2 separate regions of the Homo sapiens genome follow, and region 2 is linked to region 1. Evidence: promoter capture Hi-C in 16 types of primary human blood cells and fetal thymus (Javierre and others, 2016). All regions are on one chromosome and are shown on one strand. Each heading gives the region's core, a stretch centred on a gene start or on the middle of the fragment in contact. The rest is flanking DNA. Distances are from core to core; before and after follow the strand shown. Region 1 holds the start of CSNK2A1 (casein kinase 2 alpha 1). Region 2 has its middle 36 kb from the start of SLC52A3.

Evidence for each region. The method cuts DNA at HindIII sites, captures the fragments that hold promoters and counts their contacts. A CHiCAGO score of 5 or more calls a contact.
Region 2: a contact is called between a fragment that was not itself captured here and the fragment with the promoter of CSNK2A1 in region 1, in 5 of 17 cell types (M2 macrophages, megakaryocytes, erythroblasts and 2 more). The highest score is 11.4, in M2 macrophages.

Annotation. Positions count from the first base shown.
Region 1 is chr20:541,423-546,216 of GRCh38, reverse strand. It overlaps CSNK2A1 (casein kinase 2 alpha 1), which reads left to right and starts at 2,427. Exons shown (of 14, transcript NM_177559.3): 1 at 2,427-2,545. RefSeq lists enhancers at 1,962-2,021, 2,132-2,181, 2,292-2,371, 2,392-2,541, 2,027-2,720 and 1 more and a silencer at 2,862-2,921. The HindIII fragment of the contact is 12,556 bases long and covers 1-3,179 here.
Region 2 is chr20:729,416-734,663 of GRCh38, reverse strand. No RefSeq gene overlaps it. Among named protein-coding and RNA genes, the nearest start is that of SLC52A3, 36 kb to the left of the region's middle. RefSeq lists an enhancer at 221-721. The HindIII fragment of the contact is 8,874 bases long and covers 1-5,248 here.

The DNA of each region.
Region 1 (4,794 bases), core at 1,178-3,677:
GTAAGAGTTAAGGATAAATGTTAAGTCTACAACTAGGTGAACACTTGGGATGGGAAGCCTCTTGAGACCGGAGACCTACATGAGGCTGGCGTAGTAGACGGCAGGAGTTGGGTTTCAATTATGTCCTGCATGAGTATGAGGGTTGTATATGTGTGCCCAGGTGAGCCCTCTGAATGAAGTCATGGATAGAGGCCAGAACTAGGAAGAAGAATGAAGAACTAATGCTGTGAGAGAGGCTGAGATTGGAAAGGCATGAAGGCTAAGCAATGGGAAATATCCTCACTACACTCAGATGAAAACCCAGCTTCCTTATCATGACCTGAATGCCCTGCCCACCTCTCCCACCATATTTCTTCCTCTTCTTCCCTTTATTTGCAGTGCTTCAGCCACCATGGCCTCCTTCTTCAAACTTGTGATGCTCTTTCCTGCCTTGGGACGTTTGCACTTACTGTTTCCTTCTCAAAGGGACCTTCTGAACCACTCAAGCTAAAGCTCTATACTTCACAGCTACTTATCTTTTCCTTTCGTAGCACTTATTGCTACCTGAAATTACTTTGTTTATGCATTTGTTTACCTGTGCATTACTTGCTTCTCACTTTAGAAGGTAAGCTCCACCAGTGAGCAACTGGTGTATGTCTTCCTCATAACACATCCCCAGTACCTAGCACAGTGTCTGGCTCATAGCAAATGATGAATTGTTGTGAGTTAAACAAATGTGAATACAGTTGGGAAAAACAAAGCCACAAGAGCCAAAAAGATACGTTCGAGAGGTAGGTAGAAGGGTATCATTTCCTGGAAGATGGCTTCCCAGAAACTTTGGGATTATCTTGTATAACCTCCTCAGTCCACAAGTGGGGAAATTGAGGCCCAGTTACAGGACACTGAGAGAAAAACTGTTGTGGGTTCCCAGGCAATTGGGATCAGATGTCACAAGCTGTCTAGCAGATGAGGTCCAGAGAAGGCCACAGCCACCTCCCTGAGGCCATCACTATAAGTCTGCAGCCACCACCAGCCCTAACCCCACATGGGGAAGAGGTGCCTCTTTGGGAGCAGAGGTGCTAGTCAGCTGACAAACTGTGAAGGCAGGGCTGTGGAGGGTGGAGAGGCCCATTCCTGAGACAACCAGCTATTCTGAGACAGTTAGGGATAATGGTTGGTACTGAAAGAACCTGGCCTCCTCACCCTCGTTCCAGTGCTCACACCTCTGTCCCACCAGAGGTGAGACTAATACTTGAACTCCTTTCAGCAACTCTTAGACGCTTCAGCTTTTATCAGGGCCTGCAAAGGAGAGGTTGATCATCAGATGGAGCCCTGTCCACTGGGGGCTCCCAGTCTGATGGAGGAGACAGACTGAGGTCCTCAGGTTACTGACTGATAGTGTCTGGGTTGGAGGGAGTTAAACAGAGAGGAGACCCCTAGAGGAAAGGATCCCTGAATTAGTTCAATCGGCATACAGAAATTATCCAGTCCATGAGGTGACAGTAAGAGAAGTAACTGCCAGTGTAAAGGGAGGGAGGCAACACAGCTAAGTTCCAGGAATTGTTTGCAGTCTTGTGGGTGGAATCTTCCGGAATTTGAGAAGAGAGTGGCAGAATAGGAGGCTGGAAAGGAGGGTTTGGCCAAATTATGGAGGACTCTGAATGTCAAGTGAAGAGTTTGGGCTATCTTTGGTGCATAAAGAGGTCCATGGGAGATTTTTGACCATAGGGAGACCATGATGAGCTCTGCATGGTAGAAAGTGCTTTGTGGCTGTTTTGGGGAGGTAGCTCGGGCAAGGAGAGCAGGGGTGGGAGGCAGATAGAAGGAAAAAAAAACACTGTATTTTGGACGCACAGCTCTTGGCAGGACTCCTGTAGGAGGAAGGAATTGGGCCTTGGTCTCTTGAGAGCTAGTATCCTCACTTCTCAGACTCCTGCGCCATGCCCTTCCTAGGGTCCAACTTTCATTCACTTCTTCCGAACTCCAAGTTTGAATAGAAAGTGTTGCTGAAACCCTAATTTAAAACGAGGGGTCAGAGCAAAAGAGACTTCAGCTCCCAGAATGCTTGGCTCTACAGCTCTGCAGGTCGCGCATGGTTCTTTTCAAGAAAGGGGGGCCAGCTGGGTGAAGTGTGGGAAACCTGGGTACCGCCATCTTAACTTGGGTCAAACCAACTGTTCACCTAATGGGAGGTTCGTGTTCTCTCTGTTGTCACTTGTTAACACTATTGAAATAAAATGCGCTTAACTATTGCAAGTCTCCTTATTCTGCTTTGCGTTGGGGATTCCTTCCATTTTGCACCCTAGGCCAGAACTGAATCCCTAAGGTTACAATAGGACATCCCAGCATGGCCGCATTCAGAGAGATTCCTCTGGGGGCGGAGTCGGAAGCTGTCTCGCCCCGCCTCCTGGTAGGAGGGGGTTTCCGCTTCCGGCAGCAGCGGCTGCAGCCTCGCTCTGGTCCCTGCGGCTGGCGGCCGAGCCGTGTGTCTCCTCCTCCATCGCCGCCATATTGTCTGTGTGAGCAGAGGGGAGAGCGGCCGCCGCCGCTGCCGCTTCCACCACAGGTACCTAGGGAGCAGCCAGGCGAGGTCGTTGGCGGGTGGGGTGGGCCCAGGATAGGGCAGCGGAGCGCGGCCGACCCTCACGCTTCCAGCAGACTCCTGAGCGGCCCGTCGCCTTCCCCTGCCCCCACCTTCACACATAAACCAAGCGAGGCCCCTGCAGCCCATCGGGGAGGCCCAGGGGCCACCCCTCAGGGCGGAGGGCGAGGTTTGGGGGCAGAGGCCGATGTGAGGGTGGGAACCGGCTGCCGGAGTCCAGCTTATTGCAGAGGAGAGGACTGAACTGGGTGGGGACTAGGGGACAACTTGGAGGAGGGGGTCGTCAGAGGGGGAAGGGAACTTGAGGGGTGGGGCCGCAGGGGGGTGCTGGGGGAGGGTGCGGAGGGAGTGGTGCCTGCTGGGTAGTGTGCAGTGAACCCTCCCGCGAAACTGGGCAGCTGGAGTAGGGGCCTTCTTAGGGTCCCTCTGGGCGGGGCTGAGCTTCCCACCTGCAGAGTGGGTGCGAGGTGGAGAGAACCCCAGGCGGGGTTGCTGGGGCGAAAGGGGGAAGGGACCAAGACGTGGGGCAGAACGTCTGGAGTTGGAGTTAAGGACTAGTTAGGAGCCTGGATAGAAAAAGAGGTATGGAGAGAAAGCTTGGCTAAGGGTATACATATGTTGGTGACCTTTTGAAAGAGTAGGACTTTTCAATTTTGTTTTTCGTTGTGTGTTTTTTGCAGTGTTGGAACATTGCTAGATTAAGCAGGTGATGGGTGGAGCTTCTGTAGTTTGTTTTGGGGAAGCAGAGTCAGGGTCAGGAGAAGTTGCATCTTGGCTATTGCTTTGTGTGGAGGAAAGAGTTTTGAAAAGAAGGTGGCAAATTATTTGGGAAGACTTGATTACTTTTCAGCTGTTTAATTCTACGAGAATGGGACATGGGGAGAGGAAATGAAAACTAAGAAGAGAGGCCGGGCGTGTGGCTCACGCCTGTAATCCCAGCACTCTGGGAGGCCGAGGCGGGTGGATCACGAGGTCAGGAGTTCGAGACCAGCCTGACCAACACGGTGAAACCCCGTCTGTACTAAAAATGCAAATATCAGCCGGGCTTGGTGGCGCGCGCCTGTAATCCCAGCTACTCGGGAGGCTAAGGCAGGAGAATCGCTTGAACCTGGGAGGCGGAGGTGGCAGTGAGCTGAGATCCGCCACTGCACTCCAGCCTGGGCGACAGAGCGAGACTCCGCCTCAAAAAGAAAAAAGAAAACTAAGAAGGGAAGATTTTTCCAAGAATTGGAGACTTCATTCCATCTGAGGAGTGCAGTGTAGGCCCAGTGGTTAAAAACCAGACTGCCTAGGTTCTCAAATATCAGGGCCATTGCTACTTAGCTGTGTGACCTAAACTCTCTAAGCCTCAGTTTTCCCGTCTGTAAAAGGGGGATGATGGTATTTTCTAGCTTGTGAGTTTACGGAGAAGAGTAAATAAGACAATTTGTGTCAAGTGCTTACTACAGTGTCTGGCAGGTAGTAAGTGTAGTAAGTAGCTTTTACCTGTCACTGTAAAGGGACTAGCTGGTATATTTGGGGCTCTTCTGTTCTAAGTAAAATTTATAGTCAAGAATTTGACTGTAGACAGGGCTTTAGAGTAGTATCTTTGTAGTTGTTGTAGGGTTTTGTTGTAAGTCATTTGGCTTTACTGGCTTGGTGGACCTGGGGCTGAAAGTCCAGTACCAATACTAGTTCTCCTCCGTGGTATTCTCAAAAGTTCACCTGCAGTCTTAGCAGGGCATGTTTTTGTCCTTCTGTGACTTTGAAATACTTGGCTTTGGTTTGCTATTGCGGGAGGGTGTATGACTTGAAGAAAGAATGCAAGATTGGAAATTTGCTTAGATTGATTAATCAACTGATTATACAGTTAGGTCCCCGTGAGGTGACTTTTCTTTAAAAATAAAAAAAAGCCTAGTTATGTACTCCTTTGTGGAATACAGAGAAGAGAAATACACATTTAAGGAGGAGCATGGGTTAGTTTCTAAGTAGTTATGGGTGAAGTGCCTTGCAATTTGAGGATGAAACAGGTGGCAACTCCTTTTCCATACTGCGCGTCCTTTTCCTACTCACTCATCCAGAGTGAGTCCTTGTTTTTACTATTGTCTCTATCTCTGAACATACATCTTTGTGTCACATAAGTAAAGACATATGTATGTATGTATATATACTTTACTTCACATAAGTAAAATATATACATCTTTACTTCACACTCTGTTAAAGAAAGGGATGAT
Region 2 (5,248 bases), core at 2,240-4,739, 190 kb before region 1:
TAGCAAGACTCTGTCTCTAGGGAAGACACACACACACACACACACACACACACCTATAAACTATGCATTATACCCCCAAGTTACCCTAGTTGTACGTGGTAGAACCGGGGCTGAATGAAGGATGAATGAGGCCGGCTGGTACCAGGGTCTGTTCTCAATGTTATCAATGCACTATTATTTTGGGGGGAAATGAGCTGGGGTGGGAGTTGTGGGTTCCACTGCAAAAGAAAGTTTCAGAATGACAGGACTAGACGGACTCTCCCACAGCGGTGACATGTCACGATTCTGCAGTTCTTTGGCTTTTAGAATTTCTGCTTCAGAATTCCGTAAGGCTGAAGATGCTGCACACTTTGGAGCCAAGAGGGCAGTTGTCTGGGATGCTCTGGCTGGGTGGGGGAGGGGAGAGGACGATGGAGGTGGATGAAAATAATGGGAGGGGGGTCTGACCCCTCTCCCCACAGAGCACTCACACCCTGTCCCCAGGGACAAGGCCTCTGTCCCCTCCATTCACTCACCCCAGCTGATGCCACACACCCCCACCAGAGGCCTCCCCACCTCCCCTTATTGTCTGAAGGGCTCAGATGGAGGGGCTGCCCATTAACCCCTTCCTGGCCTCATTGATTCACTCTGCAGCTGTCACACCAGCGGCCTCAGGCCGGAGCAGGAGAGGACTTGGTAGTTAATCACAATTAGAGAGCAGCATGTCAGCTGCGAGGCTGGCCTCCTTCATCGGCTGCCAGCCGGCCTAGGCCGAGGGACAGCCTGCAGCAGCCATGCAGCAGGTTCTGAGACCTGCAGAGGCAAAGAGAGGATAGCCCCTTCCCGGTTCATTCCTGGAGACTTCCTCCAAAATCCCAGTCAGGTATCCTCCATCGTCAGAGCTGCATCCAGTAGCTTTCACGCCCACCAAGTGCCCCCTCACCAGCACCTCTGCCTGGTCCTCACATGCTGGGCTTCTCCTCTCCACTGAAATGCCTCCTCCTCCAAGAGGGCTTCCCTGACCACCCTGGCTAATGTGGCACCGTTCCCAGTCCCTCTCTATCCCACGCCCTTCTCACCTGTTTTGTTTTGTTTTGTTTTGTTTTGTTTTTCCAAAGCACTTGCCACTAGCTGGAATTGTCTTAGGTATTAACTGGTTTTGTGTGTGTATTCATTTCCTGGGACTACAGTTAACAACCACAGGCCAGGTGCGGTAGCTCATGCCTGTGATCTCAGCACTTTGGGAGGCCAAGACAGGCGGATCAGTTGAGACCAGGAGTTCAAAACCAGCCTGGCCAACCCAGTGGAACCACGTCTCTATTGAAAATACAAAAATTAGCCAGGTGTGGTGGCAGGTGCCTGTAATCCCAGCTACTCCAGAGCCTGAGGCAGGAGAATCACTTGAACTCAGAAGGTGGAAGTCACACTGAGCCAAGATCACACCATTGCACTCCAGCCTGGGTGACAGAGTGAGACTCTGTCTCAAAAATAAATAAATAAATAAAAAATTTAAAAAAAGAACAAATAACCACAAACCAGGTAGGTTAAGACAACTGAAATGTATTCTCACAGTGCTGGAGGCTAAAAGTCTGAAATCAAGGTGCTGGCAAGGCCATGCTCTCTCTGAAAGCCCTAAGGGAGGACACTTCCTCGCTTCTCCCCAGCTTTTATGACTGCAAGCCTCCTTGGCCTTCTTTGGCTTGTGGATGCATCACTCCCATCTTCGCCTCTGTGGTCACGTGGTGTTCTCCTCTGTCTGTTTCCCTCTTTAAGGGCACCAGTCATTGGAGTAGCCCACTCTAATCCAGTATTACCTCACCCTGACCTGACTACATCTGCCTAAACCCTGTTTCCAAATAAGGTCACAATCACAGGTCCCAGGGTTAGAGCTGGGATGTATCTTTTTGGCAGACACAATTCTCCCACAACAGTGTGTTTTCTCTGTATCTTCTAAGAAACCAGGGCTCTGTTGGTTCTTGTCATGGAATGCATTCTTTATGGAGCCATATTTAACTTAAAGACAGCACATTTTATCAAAGTTTCTACCCCAGGCCAGATCTGGGCCTGGGAAGAGGAGACGCTGCTGGGAGTCTCAGGGCAGGAGAAGCCTGCTGTCTGAAGCAGAAACAAGGAAGCAGGTTCCCCCATAAAAGTGGCTCCCACACATCTCCAGGACTCTGGGGTCCAGCTCACAGAGAGCTCTGGGAAACACGTGTTGATCTGATAGATGAGGAAGGGGGAAGGCAAAGTGCAGCAGGTCCAGTGAGACCCGAGGGACCAACTCAGGCAGGGGGCTGGGGAGAATTCACCGAGGAGCTGAGCACTCAGGGAATGGCACATATGCACTTAGGCCAACCAGAGGGAGCCAGGCACTGAGCTGTCTCTGCAGGGAACAGAAAAGTGGTTGGAGAGGATGCTGCCTGAGTGGGGCCACATAAGGCCAGGACAGCTCAGAGTCTGAACTTCGTCCAGATTGCCGGGAAGAGCCATTAGGAGATTTAAAACATGAATGTGGTGATGTCACGTGTGCATCTAACTGATCTTTTCAGTTTTAGTTTTTAATTAGGTAGTACATTCAACTGGTTTAAGATTCAACAGGTATAACAGGGTATGGCCCAAAGTGTCCCTTTTCCCCAGCCCCCAGCTACCCAGTTCCTCTCCCACCGACAATCACTATTACAAGTCTCTTCTAGACAGTCAATGCAGATACAAGCAAATTTCCTTGCTTTTTAAACATACCGGATTCCATAATTTAAACATTGTTCTGCACCCTGCTTTTTAAAAATATCAAGGTATAATTTACATGCAGTGAAATGCACCTGTGTAATCAACACCCCAATCATGATACAGAACATTTCCAGCATCCCAAGAAATTCTTTTATGCTCCTTCCCAGTCCATCCCTCCACCCCAGAGGCAGCCACTGCTCTGCTTTCTGTCATCATAGATTGGTCTGTTTTGCCTCTTCTAGAATTTCATATAAACGGCATCATTACAACATGCTATTTTTTGTATCCAGCTTGTTTTCATTCAGCATGTTTTGAGATTCATCCATGTGGTTGCAGACATTGGATCACTCATTTAAACTCCAGTGTAATATTTGACTCACCAGTTTATCCATTCATTGGCTGTTCGATCTTGGGTCACTTCCAATTGTTGTCTATCACATGTTAAACTCTGTTGAACATTTGCATAGAAGTCCTTGTGGAGCTATATATACATATATATTTTTATTTTGAGCAAAAACCTAGAGGTGAACTTGCTGGGTCATAGGAGAGATGTATGTTTAACTCTATAAGAAACTGCCAAACTGTTTTCCAAAGTGAAACATCTTAAATACCATTTCATATCACTGCATTGAGAGTTTCCTCATGTGTGTTTGTGGCCATCATTCTCCATTGTATAAATGTCCCATAATTTGTTTAACCAGTCCCCTATTACAGGACACTTAGGTTGTTTCCAGTCTTTTGCTGTCACAATGCTGCAGTGAATAACCTTGTAAACGTGTCAAATGTCACATGGGTTAAGCAAACCTATAGGACACACTGCTAGACATGGAACTCCTGAGCATGCATAGACTGATGGTCATTTCCCAATATCCAGACTGCGCTTTTTCTGATACTTTTTTTTTTGAGACAGAGTTCTGCTCTGTCACCCAGGCTGGAGTGCAGTGGCGTGATCTCAGCTCACTGCAACCTGTGCCTCCCAAATTCAAGCAATTTTCCTGCCTCAGCCTCCTGAGCAGCTGGGACTACAGGCACATGCCACCACACCCGGCTAATTTTTGTATTTTTAGTAGAGACGGGGTTTTTCCATGTTACCCAGGCTGGTCTCGAACTCCTGACCTCAGGTGATCCACTAGCCTCGGCCTCCCAAAGTGCTGGGATTACAGGTATGAGCCACCACGCCTGGCCATGGACTGAACTTTTTCTTTGAAATAAGAGCCTCAATTTTCATCTGGACACATGGTGCCTAGAACACAGATCATATTTCTCAGCCTCCTTTGTAGCTTAGTGTAGTGATGTGATCAAGTTTAGCCAATGGAACATCAACAAGAAGATTGTATGTGACTTCCGAAAGAGTCTTTAAGGGAACCTCCCTCCCTCCTTGGCTCCTTTCTCCTTTCTAATGACTAAAAGACTCTCCATCTGGGGGCTGGGCGCGGTGGCTCACACCTGTAACCCCAGCACTTTGGGAGGCCGAGGTGGGTGGATCACAAGGTCAGGAGATCGAGACCATCCTGGCTAACACAGTGAAACCCCATCTCTACTAAAAATACAAAAAATTAGCCAGGTGTGGTGGCACGTGCCTGTGGTCCCAGCTACTCAGGAGGCTGAGCAGGGGAATCACTTGAACCTGGGAGGCAGAGATTCCAGTGAGCGAAGATCAGGCCACTGCACTCCAGGCTGGGTGACAGAGGGAGACTCCATCTCAAAAAAAAAAAAAGACTCTCCATCTGGGGATGCAGATGTGAGGGCTGCTGTTTGAGCAGCCATGTTGGGCCATGAAGTGGAAACCATGTACTGAGGGGGTAGCATAATAAGACAAAAGGAGTTTAGGTTCCTGAACCGTAGAGCACCATGCCAGTTTTAGACTGCCTGCTTTAGACTTTATTTACATGACAGAAAAATGCCTCTATTGGCTGAGTGTGGTGGCTCACACCTGTAATCCTAGCACTTTGGGAGGCCAAGGCGGGTGGATCACCTGAGGTCAGGAGTTCAAGACCAGCCTGGCTAACATGGTGAAACCCCATGTCTACTAAAAATACAAAAATTAGCTGGAGGCTGAGGCAGAAGAATCGCTTGAACCCAAGAGGTGGAGGTTGCAGTGAGCCAAGATCACACCATTGCACTCCAGCCTGGGTGACAAAGGGAGACTCTGTCTCAGAAAAGAAGAAGAAGAAGAGGAGGAGGAGGAGGAGCAGGAGGAGGAGGAGGAGGAAAAGAAAAATGCCTCTAACACCAGGACTTTTTTTTTATTTTCTTTTTTTTTTTAGAAGGAGCCTCGCTCTGTCACCTAGGCTGGAGTGCAGTGGTGTGATCTCAGCCCGCTGCAGCCTCTGCCTCCTGGGTTCAAGCGATTCTCCTCGTGCTTCAGCCTCCTGAGTAGCTGGTGTACACCACCACGCCCAGCAAAGTTTTGTATTTTAGTAGAGACAGGGTTTCACCATATTGGCCAGCCTGGTCTCGAACTCCTGATCTCAAGTGATCCGCTTGCCTCAGGCTCCCAAAGTGCTGGGATTACAGGCTTGAGCCACCACACCCGGCCTAA